Linked DNA regions of Homo sapiens: region 2 is linked to region 1. Evidence: promoter capture Hi-C in 16 types of primary human blood cells and fetal thymus (Javierre and others, 2016). All regions are on one chromosome and are shown on one strand. Each heading gives the region's core, a stretch centred on a gene start or on the middle of the fragment in contact. The rest is flanking DNA. Distances are from core to core; before and after follow the strand shown. Region 1 holds the start of FOXE1 (forkhead box E1). Region 2 has its middle 22 kb from the start of TBC1D2.

Region 1 (5,345 bases), core at 798-3,297:
TGGGCTCAAGCGATCTTCCTGCCTTAACCTCCAGTAGCTGGGACTACAGGCTCCCGCCACCGTGCCTGGTTTAGTCCCAGTATCTTAATACATAGGTTTTTAGACTTTGACTAGAAGCTTAAGTCAAAGGAATATAAGCATAGTCAAAGTTAGACTCCCAGTCTTGGAATCTTAGAATTACAGGGTCGCAGGATCGCAGGATCGCATTCTTTAGATTTATGGAATCACGTTAGGACAACGGTCGTCCAGAATTTAAAATCTAGATATCTGAATCTCAGAATCTTGAAAGTTACTGAGAGCCACGAAATCCCGTATTAAAAGGTGCCTATAATATAATCCAGTTAAAAATTTTAAAATTTGAAGTTTTTCCTCCTTTGTAAAAACGAAACAGGACGAAATCTGGGTTTTTTGCTTCTCCATTACTTGGGAAGAAGGAAACCAGGAGTTTTGTTTAGCGAGTGTAAAGCCCCTCTCCCTTCGTTCGACCAACCCTCTGCCGCAGAAGGTTGTCAAGCAAACGCTTTGAGCGTTTCCACACACCGGGTCGACGGAGCAAGGATCTGGGCTTTGCCTCGCTCTTCCGAAGGCAGCTGCCCAACGCTTGGCCGGGCTTAGCCTGCCCTCAGCTCACCGCCACGAAGAACGCGACTAAAACCCTGGAAGGCATGCCACCCGTTACTGGCCAGAACTCTCGTCTTGGGATCTCCCACACTCACCTGGCACCACCATCCGCGCGGCTCTGCACCCACAGCCCCGGCCCGCCCCCCCCCCCCACCCCGGAAAGCTGCGTCCGGGCTGGAGCCACTGGAACCCGCGCCAAGGCCCGGAATCCTATACGTAGCAGGGGCCTCGGAGATCAGCACACGCCCTCCAGCTGCTATTTAACAGAGTAGAACACTGAGGCCCTGCGAGGGGACAAGGACAGGCCCTGGATCTCCCAGTGAATGGCCAGGGAACGAACCCGGGCCAGAGGGGCCGCGCCGCGAGGATCTCAGGTTAGGACCAAGTTCCGGCTCAGGGACAGCAGGAAAGGAACTCAGAAATTGGACACCCATGAAGCAAACGTGTCCCGACTGCCCGCCCCTTCCCCCGGAGACGCGCCCACCCGGCCACCGCTCTCTTCCCACTCCCCCATTACCCGCAGCCCTCACTCCCCGCTGCGGGAAGGGGCTGCTTGGCTGCCTCTGGGGGTCTTCAGAGCTACCCTGGTCCCGGGGGATTGGAGGAGGAGGTTACCTATCCTGCGTCGTCTTTAATCCGTGCACCACTATCCATCAAATAGAGACAGATCCTGGGCCTCTCAAAGACGGATGATTGGGGGTGGTGATTGGCCTATCCCTAAATATCTACCACGCAAGGACTCTTGAGAGATCCAGACCCCGGTACAGTCGAGGGACCTGGGGCCCAAAAAGGGAAAGCGGCTACCTCTACCACACAGTTGGGAAGCGCAGTCCTAAAGGAGACGCAGGTTGGAGACTCCGCTAAGCGGAGAAGCCGCAGTGGGGCCATGGCAAGTCACCTTCCCTTTCGGGCCTAGGAATACTCATTCGAAAGATGGGGGGACTGGAGTGCCGAGTGGCTGTGGCAGCCACGATTGGGGTTTGGAAACCATCCTGAAAGGCCCGGGGAGCCAGTCTCCTGGAACTTCTCCCTCCCCATTCCCACAAAAACCAAGCGCCCTCTCGGCCAATTCTCACCCTCTCAGGACAAAAAAGTGAGATGAGCCCGTCCTTTCACCTGCGAGTCCAAGCCCTTGGCAGAGGCCTGAAAAGTCCGAAAACTCCGAGTTCGGGCGCTGAGGTCTCCCGAGCCGGTTCCTGAACTCTCCGGGCCTCAGTCGATCGGGGTGCGGAGGGGGCCGACCCGGGGGATCTCCAAGCGCCCTCCCCGCCCTGACGCTGTGGGGCTCCTACCGCGCCGCCACAGCTGCTCCTACCTGGGGAGGTGCGCCCGGGCCCCGGGGGGCGGGCAGTCGGGGGGCGGGCAGGGAACCGGTGCCGCCCCACGCTTCGTGGCCCCTTTAAGGAGGGGAAGCCGGCGGAGGGAGGAGCCGGTCCGGTGTGTGCAGGGGAGCGCCTCGCCAGCGGTCCGCAGGGCTGGAGACCCACGCCGTGGAGAGGACCAGCCTCAGGTCGCCCCGCCTGGGCCCGCGCCCCGACCTCGCTGCCCCCGCCTCGCCTCTCTGCCCGTGGCGCTTACGGCCACCTTGGCCTCGGGGGCAGGGCATGGGCGGCCCCCGCCAGATCGCCCAGCGCCAGTACTAACTGCCCTCGCTCTGGCCTTCGAGCCCGAAGCCTCTTCTGCGCGCACAACCTAGGCAGTAATCCTAAACTAGCGGGCACCACAGACCAGCTGCAGCCACCCCAACCCAGGGATCACTTCCGGACCCCTCGACCGCCCGGCACCAGCGCGCAAGGGACCCTTCAGCCGGAGACCAGAGTCCAGTCCCGGTCACGAGGCCACCGCCGCTGCCCGCCTCGAGAAGCACCACGCGGGCTGAGCCGTCGGCTAGCGGGTCACTCCCGAGCCTCTGTCTGCACCGCGCCAGCCCCAGACCACGGACGCTGAGCCTCCAGCGCGTGCCAGCCTGGGCCGCTGGGCTCTCGGGGCCAGCCCGCGACGATCCCCTGAGCTCTCCGCAGAAGGGCCGAGCGTCCGTTCCGGGGACGCCAGGCCCGCCCCCGCCCCCCGACAGCCGCGGGGATCCAGAGCCCGGGGGTGCGGGACGCCCGCGCCATGACTGCCGAGAGCGGGCCGCCGCCGCCGCAGCCGGAGGTGCTGGCTACCGTGAAGGAAGAGCGCGGCGAGACGGCAGCAGGGGCCGGGGTCCCAGGGGAGGCCACGGGCCGCGGGGCGGGCGGGCGGCGCCGCAAGCGCCCCCTGCAGCGCGGGAAGCCGCCCTACAGCTACATCGCGCTCATCGCCATGGCCATCGCGCACGCGCCCGAGCGCCGCCTCACGCTGGGCGGCATCTACAAGTTCATCACCGAGCGCTTCCCCTTCTACCGCGACAACCCCAAAAAGTGGCAGAACAGCATCCGCCACAACCTCACACTCAACGACTGCTTCCTCAAGATCCCGCGCGAGGCCGGCCGCCCGGGTAAGGGCAACTACTGGGCGCTTGACCCCAACGCGGAGGACATGTTCGAGAGCGGCAGCTTCCTGCGCCGCCGCAAGCGCTTCAAGCGCTCGGACCTCTCCACCTACCCGGCTTACATGCACGACGCGGCGGCTGCCGCAGCCGCCGCCGCCGCCGCCGCCGCCGCCGCCGCCATCTTCCCAGGCGCGGTGCCCGCCGCGCGCCCCCCCTACCCGGGCGCCGTCTATGCAGGCTACGCGCCGCCGTCGCTGGCCGCGCCGCCTCCAGTCTACTACCCCGCGGCGTCGCCCGGCCCTTGCCGCGTCTTCGGCCTGGTTCCTGAGCGGCCGCTCAGCCCAGAGCTGGGGCCCGCACCGTCGGGGCCCGGCGGCTCTTGCGCCTTTGCCTCCGCCGGCGCCCCCGCTACCACCACCGGCTACCAGCCCGCAGGCTGCACCGGGGCCCGGCCGGCCAACCCCTCCGCCTATGCGGCTGCCTACGCGGGCCCCGACGGCGCGTACCCGCAGGGCGCCGGCAGTGCGATCTTTGCCGCTGCTGGCCGCCTGGCGGGACCCGCTTCGCCCCCAGCGGGCGGCAGCAGTGGCGGCGTGGAGACCACGGTGGACTTCTACGGGCGCACGTCGCCCGGCCAGTTCGGAGCGCTGGGAGCCTGCTACAACCCTGGCGGGCAGCTCGGAGGGGCCAGTGCAGGCGCCTACCATGCTCGCCATGCTGCCGCTTATCCCGGTGGGATAGATCGGTTCGTGTCCGCCATGTGAGCCAGCGTAGGGACGAAAACTCATAGACACATCGGCTGTTCACACGTTCCCCGCAATCTGAGAACGAACAGGAATGGAGAGAGGACTCAACTGGGACCCACGTGGAAAAGACCGAGCAGGCCACAGAGGCTCGGTCTCCCCGCGCACAGCGTAGGCACCCGGTGTACTCTGTAAACGGGAGGAGGTGGGGCGAGGCAGCCAGAGCCCTTGGACTGGCACAGGGACCCTCGATGGAGCGAAGCCCTCAAACGGGATGCTTTCTGGTATTCTATCGGGGAGGGTCCTTGGCGGTAACCAGAGGGCAGCGTAGTGTCAACACCAGAGACCAGGATCCAAATTGTGGGGAATCAGTTTCAGCCTTCCATGTGCTGCCGGAACTCGGGCCTTTTTACGCGGTTCGTCCTCTAGTGCCTTTAACTGCGTTACTACAATAAAAGGCTGCGGCAGCGCCTTTCTTCTTAAAGTGAGGAGGACAAATTTGCAAAAGAAATAGGCTTTTCTTCTTTTTTAAATTGGAGAAATCTCTGCTCTGGTTGACCTGGGCTGGTTTTCCCTGTCTCTGAGAACTTGAGACCTAGCTCCGAGTTGAACTGTGCGTCAGCACTCCAGTCCCATCACCTGAACCTTCAGTCTCCCCCATCTGTTACACTAGAGGGCTGCAGGACTCTATCCACCGCCCCCGGGTTATCATTCAGGGCCCCATCATCTTGGATGCTGCCCTGCGTATTTGGCAGCAATGGTGGGCCACCCAGGGCCTCTGAGTAGCCACCCAAAGCCTAGCCGCTGTTCTAGGGAACGGAAAAGAGTTCATGGCCAAGCGTCTAACCTAAAGTCCCAGGATTGGCTCCAGGCAGCAATTATATCATAACTTATTGAACTTTTGAGCAGGACGTGCTGGTAATTTCATGGCTGTTACTGCCCAGTCATAAATCTGCTTTTCCATTATAAGGCAGAGAGAAGTACATTCGTTCATTTGTCCACTGTTTCTTGTCATCACGCAGCCCTGGACCCAAAGGGTGAACTAAAGTTTAAGGAGATGAGAGGATTCAAGGAGCCCGTTGGTGACGCCTTTCAGTAGCTGGGGAGGGCTCTTCCATCCCCAGCACCCCCTGCTACACCTCAGCAGCCTCCCCCATGCAAAAAGGAAAGAGAAAAATTAAGTTAGGGCAGTCAGTAAAGTGAGCTTTAGAAAGAAACTGGAATTTTAACTTCATTTTGTATCTTGCTTAAGTAGCAGGCTCACTAAAATTAGAGAAAGTCCAATAACTCTCCCCCTTTCCCTTGAGAAATCTTTAAGTTTCGATTCTGGAGCAAAAACTTTCAGCATTAAATATTTCAGAGGCTCCATTCACAGCTTTCAGATAAACTGGAGTGTTCAGATGGACTGTTTTAATAAAAATCTTTGAGCAAGTGAGTTATGGCAAGAGAAACTCAGCCTCTTTCTGTATAAACTTAACAGGGAAGGGCTGGGGTGTGAAAAAGAAGAT
Region 2 (5,153 bases), core at 1,619-4,118, 430 kb after region 1:
TATAACGTATGAAAAAGGGACATAATTACAAATGCAACAGATTAAAAAAATAAGTACTACAAACAACTTTATGCTAATAGTTTGAAAGCTTCCATGAAATAGACATGTTTCTAGGAAAATAAAACTTATAAAACTCACTTGCACAGAAAAAGAAAACCAAATCTGTAACAGTTGAAGAAACTGAATTAGTAGATTAAAATCAACCTACAAAACAATTCTGCTAAACGTTCAAAGAACTGACAACTCTAGGCCAGGCATGGTGGCTCACACCTGTAATCCCAGCATTTTGGGAAGCCGGGACAGGAGGATCGTTTGAGGCCAGGAGTTCAAGACCAACTTGGGCAACATAGTGAGACCCCATCTCAATTAAAAACAAACAAACTGACAATTCTAATTTTATACAAACCCTTTCAGAGATTAGAAAAAGAGGCAACATCCCCTCAAATCATTTTACGAGGCTAGTGATGACCTTGATTCCAAAGCCAGAATGAAAAAGAAAAAATAAAGCATCAAATTTATTCATGATTTTAGATGCAAAAATCCTAAACAAAATAATGGCATACTTTAGTAATGTATTAAATAAAAAATGACCTAGTTAGGTTTACCCTAGAAATGTAAGCATCAAATATATCTACTATTAGCAAATCTAATAATGTAATTCACCAGATTAACAGATTAAAAGAGAATAATCACAATCAGTGCTGAAAAATAGTTTATGAAAATGCAACACTCATTTATGATAGCAGCTAAGGGAAATGGATCATTCCATGTACCCCATTTGGAAAAGCAGACATGATACGGGTTGGGAATGTTCCTTCACTAGAAGTGGTTGGAGGAGTCTTAACTCTTTGAGGCACAAATGCGAAATGATGGACTTTTTCCCAGTGACCAGTTGGACTCTGTGGAACCTTCTTTCCCACTTGTAGCTTCCCTTAATAATATCTCAGGCTTCTCCCTTCATGTTCAGTTACTAAGAATCACTGGACAAAATGATAGACATCTAGATCAATGGAATAGAACTAAGAATCCAGAAATAAACCCTTGCATTTATAGTCAATTGATTTTCCACAAGGATGCTAAGACAATTCAGTGGAGGAAAGAATTATCTTTTCAATTAATGGTGCTAGGATAATTGGCTACCCACATGCAGAAGAATGAAGTTGCACTCCTTACGCATACCTTACCCAAAAATTAACTCAAATGGATTGTAAATGTAAGAGCTAAAACTAAAAAACTTTCAGAAGAAAAACAGAAGTATTTGTGATTTGAGCTTAGATATGACAGCAAAAGCATAAGCAATAAAAGAAAAAAGTAAGACTTCATCAAAATTAAAAACTTTTATGCTTTAAAGAACACCCTCAATAACATGAAAAGATAACCCATTGAATGGAAGAAAATATTTGCAAATCGTGGATCAAATAAGAAACTTGTATCTAGAATACATAACAAACTCTTACATCTCAATAGGAAGAATTCAAATTATTCAACTTAAAAATGGCGCCGGGTGCAGTGGCTCATGCCTATAATCCCAGCACGTTGGGAGGCTGAGGTGGGAGGATTGCTTGGAACCCAGGAATTGGAGACTAGCTGGGCAACATAGGGAGGCTCTGTCTCTACAAAACTAAAAAAATTAGGGAGTGGTGGCTTGCGCTTGCAGTCCTAGCTACTCGGGAATTTGAAGTGGGAGGATTCCTTTAAGCCCCAGGAATTCTAGGGTGCAGTGAGCCGTTGTTATCACACCACTGCATTCCAGCCTGGGCGACAAAGTGAGGCCCCGTTCCAGAAATAAATAAATAAAAGGCAAAGGCTCTGAACAGACATTTTTGCAAAGAAGATATGTCAATGGCCAATAAGTACATGAAAAGATGCTCAATATCTTTAGCCATCAGGGAAATGCAAACGAAAACCACAATGAGATACTTCACATCTACCAGGATGGCTATGAATTTTTTTTTAAAAATAGATAATAACAAATGTTGGTAAGCATAAGGAGAAATTGGAACCCTCATACATGCTGATGAGAATGTAAAATGTTGTAGCTGCAGTGGAAAAATCTGGCAGTTCCTCAAACAGTTAAAACTAGAGTTACCATACAACCCAGCAATTCCACTCCTAGTTATATCCCCAAGAAAAACAAAGACATTATGTCCACACAAAAACTTGAGTGTTCATAATATCATTATTCATAATAGTCCAAAAGTAGAAACAACTCAAATGTTTGCTAACTGATAACATGGATAATAATTGCATAAAGTAAAATGTATACACATACTATAGACTATATTCGGCAATAAAAGTTGAGGCAGTCCTGATCCATGCTGCAATATGAATGCATTATCTTGCATTCATATTGATAACACATGAATTTTGAACCCATTATCTTAAGTAAAAGAAGCCCATCACAAAGAACCACATATTGCAAGTTCCATTTATGTGAAATGTCCAAACTTACAGAGACAGAAAGTAGATTTCGTGGTTGCTTAGGCTGGGGGAACTTGGGGAGAAATAGGGACTGTCAGCTAACTCTTCTTGGAGTGATGAAAATGTTCCAAAGTTAGATTGTGGAGATGATTGTATGAATCTGTGAATATACTAAAAAATTTGAATTGTATACTTTAATTCATTTTATTTTATTTTTTTAGGATCTCAGTCTGTTGTAGTGGCAAAATCATGCTCACTATAACCTCAAACTCCTGGGCTCAAGTGATCCTCCTGCCTCAGCTTCCTGAGTAGCTGGGACTACAGGCGTGCATCCCCCACGCCGGGCTAATTTTTAAATTTTGTGTAGAGATGGAGTCCCCTTATGCTGTCCAGGCTGGTCTCAAACTCCTGGGCTCAAGGGATCCTCCTGTCTTGGCCTCCCAAAGCATTGGGATTATAGGTGTGAGCCACCATGCCTGGCTGAATTGCACCCTTTACAAGGGTGAATTGTGTGGTATGTGGATTCTATCTCAATAAAGCCACAAAAAGTAAAGAGTCTCTGGATGTTTAAAAAAAAAAAAAAAGTGCACTCTTCCCAGGCAGGCACTTGAGGTTTCTGTGACTTGGGGCAGGGAGGGAGGTGATGAGGTTTGCTCTCCCATTCTCTATTTTCTCTGAGATATCAGGGAAAGGAGGCAAGAGAGGGGAGAGGTATCAGAACACTGCTTTCTGTGACTCCTTGCGTGAGGTTACAGTCTTCTTTCTGCTGGCATCACTTCTTTTGTTCCTATCTGGCTGTCTGTTCCTCTGCCAGGCAGGTGTCTGAGTGCTGGCTTTCCAGTGGGTCCTTCTGACACAATCCTCTGGTGAGCAAGTTCTGACTGAACTTCATCCATCTACTTTTTTCCTCAGCCTCTTAGGATGATGAAATTCTCCCAACCTTCCTCAGTGCCCACACAACCCATGGAAAACCCACATCTCCTTGCCAAGCCACCCTGTGGGAATGCCACTGGCTACCCTAGTCTTCCTCTCTTCCGCTCAGCCCTCTCTCGACCTGCCAGCAACACTGGCCTGGGCATTGGGCAGTTCAATGGCGCTGAAGTTTTCAGATGAAAGGCATTGCCAGTCCCTTACTTGGTGAAGGGGAAAGGGTCTGGAGGAATACTTAAGCTACCCCCGATCTTATGGAGGGAGGGGAACTTATTTAAGCCTTCCCGGCTCCCCCATGGGATGAGAAGAGATGGCTGCTGCTCATGAATTCTGCTCTCACTTGCCTCCTCTTCTTCCCTGTGGTGGGGGTGACTTGTGAGAGAAAGTGGATGCTGGAGCGCTGGTTCTGCAGAAGTCCTGTGAAATTATGACTTCCAGCAGCTCCTGCATGGAGATACCGGCCCACATCTGAAGGTCCTTTGAACTCAGAATGGAAGCTCTAAAATCAAATCCAAGACTACTTGGCTTTTGCACTACTGAGTTTGAATTAACCCCAGGTGGTCTTCTCCACGCTTAGTGAGAAGATGGTGGCCTGCAGCTGCTTCTCCTCCCTCCACCCTTTACCTGAGCGGTGGAAATGACTTGAGCTTTTAGAGATGTGCGTGGGACACTTTCTCTAATTTTCAGAGACCATCTAGATAGAATAATCTTTATGGAAGAGGATATGGATTTGCTCTGATTGGTTGGGCCATTGTAGCAAGAATTAAAGAGAGAGGAGTTGAATGTGCAGGTTTCTGACACTACTCCAATCTCAAAACTTTCCCTCCCTCCCTCCTCCTTTCTTCCCTCCCCACTTTCTTCCCTTTTTTCTTCTCAGTCCATTTTCTCGTCGTTTGTCTGTAATCTCTTATTTCACAGAAAAAACTCAGAACTGGCTTTTCTTTGCAGATGGGGTGAACACCTTCCATCTTGCCTCCCCTGCCCTGAGATGCTGGCAGAGTCCTTCTGCTAGATCCTGGAGGCCTGGTTGAGTGGCCCAGGGTGAAGATCTGGGATGGGGGCATCTAGTCAATGGGCAACTTGGGCATAGGATTTTGTGTCTGCATAGGTTCTTCTCTGCTGTGGCAGAGCTGCCAGCCTCTAGCCCTGAGTGAATCGGCATCCTTCCTGATGTGGAGGTCGCCCTACCTCTTCAGTTAGTTTTGACCAACTCCCCACCTCCACCTCCACTCCCATCGAGGGGCTGGTGCCTTCAGAGCTGTGGCCACCACAGCCATGGCAGGTGTCTGTTGTCATAGCCGCCCAGGAGCTCTGGTACTGCCATCATCATTGCCACTGTCACTGTTGCTCAACATGGAGCTGCCCCTGCTCCCCCAGGCTCCCTTGCCCTCAAAACCAGGTGTCCCTGAGGCCCAGAATCTCCCAGGGGCTGGTTTATGAGTCAACCTGAGGAGCCCAGGGGCCTGGAGTGTATCTCCCAGCGTTGCTCTGAGCCACTGGCTTGCTCATGGTCACATTGCCTGGGCCAGAGGCTCTCAGACTGGGGCCTAGAGCCTCAGATGATGCCCTTGGTGAATCTTGGGGGTCTGCAAATCTTCTATAAACTGAAAACAAGAGGGATTTTTATTTCAAGATAATCTTTAAAAAAAGCATATCCTGGGTCATCTGAATCCGGCTAATTGTGACTAGGGTTTAAAGAAGTGGTAAAGGTGGTCTACTCTGGATCGGGCTGCTGTGTTCAAATTGTGACTCACTCCACATCCCAGCTGTGTGACCCAGGACAGCACTCACCCGCTGTGCCT

Evidence for each region. The method cuts DNA at HindIII sites, captures the fragments that hold promoters and counts their contacts. A CHiCAGO score of 5 or more calls a contact.
Region 2: a fragment that was not itself captured here is called in contact with the fragment with the promoter of FOXE1 in region 1 in 4 of 17 cell types (activated CD4 T cells, total CD8 T cells, naive CD4 T cells and 1 more); the score reaches 6.6 in activated CD4 T cells.

Annotation. Positions count from the first base shown.
Region 1 is chr9:97,851,179-97,856,523 of GRCh38, forward strand. It overlaps FOXE1 (forkhead box E1), which reads left to right and starts at 2,048. Exons shown (of 1, transcript NM_004473.4): 1 at 2,048-5,345. The coding sequence starts at 2,737. The coding sequence ends at 3,858. It overlaps PTCSC2 (papillary thyroid carcinoma susceptibility candidate 2), which reads right to left and starts at 1,902. Exons shown (of 11, transcript NR_147055.1): 1 at 1,738-1,902. RefSeq lists an enhancer at 515-1,016. The HindIII fragment of the contact is 6,931 bases long and covers 116-5,345 here.
Region 2 is chr9:98,275,552-98,280,704 of GRCh38, forward strand. No RefSeq gene overlaps it. Among named protein-coding and RNA genes, the nearest start is that of TBC1D2, 22 kb to the left of the region's middle. RefSeq lists an enhancer at 4,188-4,873. The HindIII fragment of the contact is 5,565 bases long and covers 87-5,153 here.